Linked DNA regions of Homo sapiens: region 1 is linked to region 2. The links are contacts of gene promoters, found by promoter capture Hi-C in blood cells and fetal thymus (Javierre and others, 2016). All regions are on one chromosome and are shown on one strand. Each heading gives the region's core, a stretch centred on a gene start or on the middle of the fragment in contact. The rest is flanking DNA. Distances are from core to core; before and after follow the strand shown. Region 1 holds the start of LCN10 (lipocalin 10). Region 2 has its middle 6.0 kb from the start of C9orf163.

What was found. The method cuts DNA at HindIII sites, captures the fragments that hold promoters and counts their contacts. A CHiCAGO score of 5 or more calls a contact.
Region 1: the fragment with the promoter of LCN10 here is called in contact with a fragment that was not itself captured in region 2 in 1 of 17 cell types (naive B cells); the score reaches 6.4 in naive B cells.

What each region holds. Positions count from the first base shown.
Region 1 is chr9:136,741,236-136,744,843 of GRCh38, reverse strand. LCN10 (lipocalin 10) reads left to right here and starts at 1,904. Exons shown (of 6, transcript NM_001001712.3): 1 at 1,904-2,057; 2 at 2,824-2,963; 3 at 3,483-3,592. The coding sequence starts at 1,941. It overlaps LCN6 (lipocalin 6), which reads left to right. Exons shown (of 7, transcript NM_198946.3): 5 at 103-204; 6 at 480-505; 7 at 702-827. The coding sequence ends at 182. RefSeq lists a silencer at 2,400-2,499. The HindIII fragment of the contact is 7,084 bases long and covers 1-3,608 here.
Region 2 is chr9:136,487,539-136,491,359 of GRCh38, reverse strand. No RefSeq gene overlaps it. Among named protein-coding and RNA genes, the nearest start is that of C9orf163, 6.0 kb to the right of the region's middle. RefSeq lists a silencer at 2,450-2,499. The HindIII fragment of the contact is 1,579 bases long and covers 1,721-3,299 here.

The DNA.
Region 1 (3,608 bases), core at 655-3,154, 250 kb before region 2:
TCCCAGGGCAGGTGGCCTCCTTCCTGACCCTTCCCAGCCCCTCCCCGGCCCCTCCCCAGCTCTCAGAGGTTGCTTCCCCCTGCACTGCCCTGGTGCCCCCAGGTCTGACGGAGACAGCCAGCCAGGAGGCCATGGGGCTCTTCACCAAGTGGAGCAGGAGCCTGGGCTTCCTGTCACAGTAGCAGGCCCAGCTGCAGAAGGACCGTGAGTGTCCACCGGAGCAGCCTCGGGGGAGGCTTGGGGCAAGTTCTGGAGCCCACAGGGCGTGATGGGGTGACAGAGACCCTGGGGTTGATTCTGGCTTCTGCCTGACTCAGTCGCCCTGAAGGAGTCAGGCAGGCTGAGGGGGTCTTCACCTGCCCCTGCCCAAAGTCAGGCCTGGGGGTCTTGTCCCCACGGCAGGCGAGTCTTGTGGGTGGGGCCCTGGGGTGCTGGGGGGCTCAGTCCTTTTTCACAGCCAGTCTTGCCTCCCCTTCTAGTCACCTGTGCTCACAAGATCCTTCTGGTAAGCCGCCATCCTGAGCCTCACCCTGGGCTCTCTTGGGGGAAGGGGGTGGGGGAGGCCACCCTACGCACAGTGGGTGGGAGGACCCTCTGCCCAAGCCCACGGGGTTCATGGCTCCACTGTCTCTAAGGCAGCTGAGGGTGTGGAGGAGCCTCCATGGTGGGCTGGGCCCCCTCACACTCCTCTTGGTTTTCAGTGAGTGCTGCGTCCCCAGTAGGGATGGCGCCCACAGGGTCCTGTGACCTCGGCCAGTGTCCACCCACCTCGCTCAGCGGCTCCCGGGGCCCAGCACCAGCTCAGAATAAAGCGATTCCACAGCAAACCAAGGATGCTTTTGACTGGGGGCCAGCCGGGGAATTGCGGGGAGGATGGCGGGGGTCGTCACCAAGGGCCAAGCCACAGAACCATAGAGCCAGCTGCAAAGAAGACGCGTGCCCAACCCAGTCCCTTGCCAGAGCCCCTCTGGGTCTTCAGACACCCAAACTCAGGCCCGGGCTCAGAGGCGGGGGCTGGTCAGAGGACACAGCCTGGGAGGAAGCCAGCAGTGAGCTCCACCAGGACCGCAGCTGGGGTGCCAGAGGCTCCAAGGACTGCCCAGGACAAGAGAGAGGTGGCTGGTGGGGCTCAGAGCAGCCCCTGACTCCCCAGGCTCAGGCTTCTCTGGGCTGGGGTTGTGTCTCTTGCCTGGGCAGGGGCAGGGACCCCAGACACCTGAGCCTGCAGGTCCTCCTGTGTTCTGATGGGTGTGGGGGGCTGCGCTGCCTGCCGTCCTGGGAGAAGCACAGGCCATGGGGGTCTCGGGGCTGGATGGGGGGCTGGGGACTGTGTGAGGCTCATGCTGGAGTGAGGCGAGGTGCACACAGATGCCTTGACCTGCAAGGCTGGGCATGCACACGCATGCACATGTGAGCACACACCCACACATGCACACACACACATTCATGGGCACGGGCACACAGCCCCGGCCCGCCCTTCGGCACCTGCTCAGGTGCTTGGTGCCAGGCCCTCAAGAAGGTGGTGGGGGCTGTGTGTGTGGCTGCCGCGCAGAGCTCACCATGTCCACATCTGCCCCAGAAGGGCCACGACCAGCCCTTTGCCTGTCACCTGGGAGGTCTAGGATGAGGGCCAGGGCTTAATGAGTCTCAGGGGCACACACAGTGACCCCAGGCCGGGCACTGAGGGCAGGAGGGTCCTGGGGCCTCAGAGGGGCCTCTGTCTGCCAGGGCAGCCCAGGCCAGCAGTGACCACCAGGTGGGGCAGTGCCGGCTTCCCTGGAGTGTCTGGGGGTGGTCCCTGGGCGGGGAGAGGGTAGCAGAGCCCAAGGCCACACCTGTTGCCTCCCTCCGCTCCCTCCCCTCCCTCCTCTCCCGACACAGGCTGGCGGCTCCAGAGAGGTTTAAACACTGGCCTTGGCGGCTGAGGGAGGAGGGTGAAGATGAGGCAGGGGCTGCTGGTGCTGGCGCTGGTGCTGGTGCTGGTGCTAGTGCTGGCTGCAGGGTCCCAGGTGCAGGAGTGGTACCCCAGGGAGTCCCACGCCCTCAACTGGAACAAGGTGAGCCATGTGCCACTGGTCCCTGAGCCGGGCGCCGGCTCTGGAGCTGGAGCAGGCTCCTGCACAGTCTCCCGGCAGCCGCCCAGGAGCAGGGCTACCAGCAGTTCCAGGCACGGGCGCTGCCCACCTGGCCTCTCCCACTGCAGCCTCCAGCACAGGGGCCCCGCAAGTTGCAGGGCAAAGGCAGGGAGCCTCGAGGGGGTTCGGGGGCCCAGGGGGGTCAGGGAGGGCCAGGGTGGAGGGGCCCAGAGAGCTGTGGCCGAGGAGGTCGGGAGACGCCCAGAGTGCAGAGTGGGTGTGGAGCAAGCGGGGCATATTCTGTAGCGGGAGGGCCCGGGCACCTGCTGAGTGAGCCGTGGGAGCAGCACTCATTGGCACGGCGGTGCCCAGGGCGCTAGGGTTGGCAGCAGGCAGAGTTGGGGGCCGGGGGCCGGCAGGAAGGGAAGTGGCCGAGCAGTACCCAGCCCCCAGGAGGCCATGTGGGAAGGAGCCGGGGCCTCTGAGGTAGGGGGCCTCCCACCTGCTGGCGCCCACAGCCCAGCCCTTTGCTGCCTGGGGTCCCTGACCAGCCGGGCACCTGCTTCTCTGCAGCCCTGCTCCAGTGGCCAGGGCTTGAGTGGCCGGGACCGAGGCGGCACCTGGGCGGAGCTGGGACTCCGGCTCACAGAAGGGTCATTTGTCTCCTGGGTTCTCTAGCTGGGAACCTCGGGGGTGGGGACAGCCCCCGGTGGCAGCTCCTGTCCCCGCCCACACATCCGCTGCGCAGTTTTCAGGGTTCTGGTACATTCTGGCCACTGCCACTGATGCCCAGGGATTCTTGCCGGCCAGGGACAAGAGGAAGCTGGGGGCGTCCGTGGTAAAGGTGAACAAAGTGGGCCAGCTCCGCGTGCTCCTCGCCTTCAGACGGTGAGTGGGCAGCGCCCCCCAGGCAAGGGTCTCCCCTTCCAGGAGGAGGGAGCTGCCTCGGGGCTGGAAAGGAGTCTGGGAGGAGCCTGTCTGTCTGGAAGTTCCACAAGAACCGTCCCCCCACTTCCTCCCCCTAAACTCAGAGGAAGCCACCTGCAGCCCCTGGGACCCCACATGGGTGGGTGTTGGGAGGAAGCTGCCTGCAGACCTTGGGACCCCACATGGGTAGGTGTTGGGAGGAAGCCGCTTGCAGCTCCTGGGCCCCACACGGGTGGGTGTTGGGAGTTTCTCTCGTGCCGTGGGACAGGCCCCAGTCCGAATTGGAAAATCCTCAAACCACAGAGCCTCAGATTGACACGAGTTGGATAGTGAAGCAAAAAACTGGGGACCTGGGGCCCCAACCTTCCCGGGTCCCACGGGAGCAGGGGCGGGACCGAGACGTGTGGGTGGGGCTCGGTGGCTGGCAGGCGGGAGGAGGGGTTCCCTGGTCTGCAGCCTGAGCCCCCGCCTTGGCCCCAGGTTGAAGGGGTGCCAGTCCCAGGAGGTGATCCTGAGGAAAGACGGGAAGAAGCCGGTGTTTGGGAACGCCTGTGCATACGCGGCGGGCCCGAGGGAAGGACAGGAGGGAGGTGTGCTTGGGCTCTG
Region 2 (3,821 bases), core at 1,261-3,760:
TTGTATTTTTAGTAGAGAGGGGGTTTCACCATGTTGGCCAGGCTGGTCTTGATCTCTTGACCTCGTGATCGGCCCACCTCGGCCTCCCAAAGTGCTGGGATTATAGGCGTAAGCCACCACGCCCGGCCGTGAATGAGATGTTTTATATTCTTTTTGTTTGTTTGTTTTTGGTACTGTGTCTTTGAAACCCAGGATGTACAGTACACTCACAGCACCCTAGATTGGGCCTGGCCACACTTTAAAAGGTGTTCAGTATCTCCAGGAGGCTCACGTCCAGATTCGGACTCTTCAGCAGGATGCCAAGGGGGCTCCAGACAGTTCCACCCAGCGCAGGAAAACACCAAGTGTATCTTCAGCCTGGTGACTCACTCCACGCCGCTGCCGGCGTGAACCCCGAGTGTGGCGCTGCGTCCCTCTGGATAGAGCAAAGGAGGGTCCCAAGAGCCCGGAGGCACCAACTCATCAGGGCCCACAAATCAGGCCCCCGGCAGGCAGGGCTGCCTCCATCCAAGAGGGAAGCACGGTGCCGTAGCCCCCGGGCTGCTCCAGGGATCGACAGGCCTGTGCTGCCTTCATCCCAAAAGTCTCACTTGCAAAGGGTGTCCGTGGGGCTCAACTGCGTGCTCAGCGGTGGACTGATTTCGTTCTGTGTGGCTCCTTATCTCATCGTGGACCCAAATCCACGAACCACACATGAGGAGCTCTGCTGGAGGGGGCAGCACTGGGCAGAGGCAGACAAGGGGGAGCGTCACGCGGCTGTTTCCCGTGGTGAGCATCCACCAGCAGCGGTTCCTGGTGGGACACCGACGTATTCGTCTGCAAAAGTAAAAGTGTTTCAAAACAAAACCGGGTCCAGCTTGGTCCCGGTGCGTTGAAAGTGCTGGCGTTGGCCAGGCGTGGTGGCTCACGCCTGTAATCCCAGCACTTTGGGAGGCTGAGGCGGGTGGATCACAAGGTCAGGAGATTGAGACCATCCTGGCTAACACGGTGAAACCCCGTCTCTACTAAAAAATACAAAAAATTAGCCGGGCGTGGTGGCAGGCGCCTGTAGTCCTAGCTACTTGGGAGGCTGAGGCAGGAGAATGGCGTGAACCTGGGAGGCGGAGCTTGCAGTGAGCAGAGATCATGCCTCTGCACTCCAGCCTGGGCGACAGAGCAAGACACTCTCACAAAAAAAAAAAAAAAAAAAAAAAAAAAAAAAAAAAGTGCTGGCGTTAGTGGAGGTCTCTCAGAGGGGGCGTTGCAGGGCCTCCCACGTTACTCAGGCTTTGCAGACGAAGACGCAGGGTCAGTGAGTGAGCGAGCTTTGGGAAAGGCTGTTCTTCAATCTGCATCTTGAAGGTGGCTGGGTGGCGCCTCAGTCGCCTGCCCCGACGTGACTCCCGATCTGGCTGCTTTGTGTCTTTGCTTTCCACCTGGCGGCTGCTGTCCTGGCTGTTGCTGTACCTCAGTGTCCTCGTGGGTCAAGTGGGGACCTGGGTGCTGGCCCTGGGCCTGCGATGGTGAGCTGCTGGTGCACGCTGGGCATGGGGTGAGGGCTCAGAAAGGGAACAGCTCTTGTTATCGTTAGGAGGTTTTCAATCGCATTCTTTGTTCTCCACCTGCATGCCGTGTTGGCACAGTTAAGCCTGGCGGCCCCTTCAGCAGGTGTCCTAACCGTCTACATTTTAAGATGGACAAGTCTAGGCTCATGGAGATTGCAGGACTGAGCTGCGAAGCTTTATTCATGCCCAACACGACAGGTGCCAGGTGCCCAGGGCCTCAGAGGTGGGTTTCCGTTGTTCTTCACACAACCTTGAACTTGTGGCCCATCCCTGGACCTTACAGCACAGGACACACTCTCAGTGTTTGTTAGGAATCTATAATTTTCTGCGGAGTCACGCGTGATATTTGCTGTGGCTTTTGGTATATCTTCCACTCTATCGCACGGGATTTTCTGGTGAAAATGTGCCCTGGGTCCACACAAACGTGCACATTCTACCACAGCCTTTGTCGTTCTGTTTGGCATTTTTCCATTTAATAAAATGAACCTTAGAAAAGTTATAACTACGGCCAGGCGTGGTGGCTCACACCTGTCATCCCAGCACTTCGGGAGGCCGAGGCGAGAGGATCACCTGTGGTCAGGAGTTCCACACCAGCCTGGTCAACTGGTGAAACCCCCCTCTCCACTAAAAATACAAAAATTAGCTGGGCACCATGGTGGGCACCTAGAATCTCAGCTACTTGGGGGGGCTGAGGCAGGAGAATTGCTTGAATTCGGAAGGAGGAGGTTGCAGTGAGCTGAGATTGCACCACTGCACTCCAGCCTGGGGGATACAGTGAGACTCGGTCTCAAAAAAAAAAAAGAAAAGTGTATAACTTTACTTTTTTTTCTTTTTGTGGAGATGGAATCTTGCTATGTTGCCCAGGCTGGTCTCAAACCCCTAGGTTCAAGTGATCCTCCCACTTTGGCCTCCCAAAATGCTGAGACGACAGATGGGAGCAACCTCACCTGGCAAGCGTGCACCTGTTACTTTGGCCGACTCAGAGGCGGCTCTCTGCCTCCCCCTGGTGGCACTGCTCTGCCAGCGCCCCACAGGTCCTCCCGAGTGACCACAGGGCAGAAATGGCCCTCACCCCACGCCCAGGGCCATCCCCCGCGACACTGCTATTATCCTGTTTTACACATGAGGAAGCTGGGGCTCAAAGAGGTTAGGCGACTTAGCCAAGTTCGCCCATTCACTGAGCCAGGGCTATGTGATTCCCGGTCCGTGTCAAACCACGAGGAGTCACCTGCCCTCAGAGGAGCAGGAAGGCCTGTAGAGTTGATGCCATCCAGCCTGGTGACTTTTCAGACAGGGAGACGGCTGCTCAGAGGGGAGAAGGGGGTTGTTGGGCCACTTTGCCAGGAGTCAATACCATGGCCAGCCTGGCATCGGATACTTTGCCAGGAGTTAATGCCACGACTGGCCTGGCATCGAATACTGGAGCTCTTCCCAGCTCCACCCGGGCCCTTTTCTCTTCCCTATCTACAGTCCCCAGGCCACCAAGTCCATGTCCACCACTTAAATCATCACTCAATGCTCAGGACTGTCTCCTGCCTGCTGTGTGTGAACCCCGTGCTGTGCTGGGGTTGTGCCCTCGGGGACTCTCCCGGGTTCTTGGGGACTCTCCTGGGTTCAGCGCCTCTTTCTCCTAGGCCACCCAAGGCTGCCTCCTGGGCCCTGGCTCTCCCTAGCCCCTAGCTCGAACCCTAACCTGGAGAGCCTTTGGGGCCCAAACTGGTTGCATCGCTCCTGGCTGAAAAGCCTCTGGAAGCTTCCTATACTTCCAGACACCACCTGCGGGTCTCTTAGCAAGCCTACAGAGTCCACACTAGCCTACGCCCACTGGCCGCTCACCCCGCAGAAGCCTCATGTGGACTGTTCACTTCAGCCAGAAATGCTCCTTCTCCTCCTGCCTGTCCCCAGCAGACACTGCATGGTGCCCTCTGTATGGGCACCTCTGTGGCCAGCCAGCATCCATGTTCCCCGGAGGCAGAGTCTGGGCTTGTCTGTCTCACGGCCACAGCCCAGCTCCTAGCAGTGCCTGGGGTACAGCAGGGACTCAGCAGACATCTGTGCATGGTTTGGGGATAGAGGACTCGTGAGCTTACCAAGACCCTGCCTCAGCTCAAGGACAGCCAGCAGTTCCTCCTGTGGCCCTGGGGGCCTGCGGTCCCAGGTTACTGTGACATCGACATCAGCCTTGAGCTTTCTGCTTCATTCCTAGTGCTTTTTAGCACCTTACATGGTAAGTACTTGGCTCAATGATTCCAGAAAAATGTTCTCTGAGACCTGCTA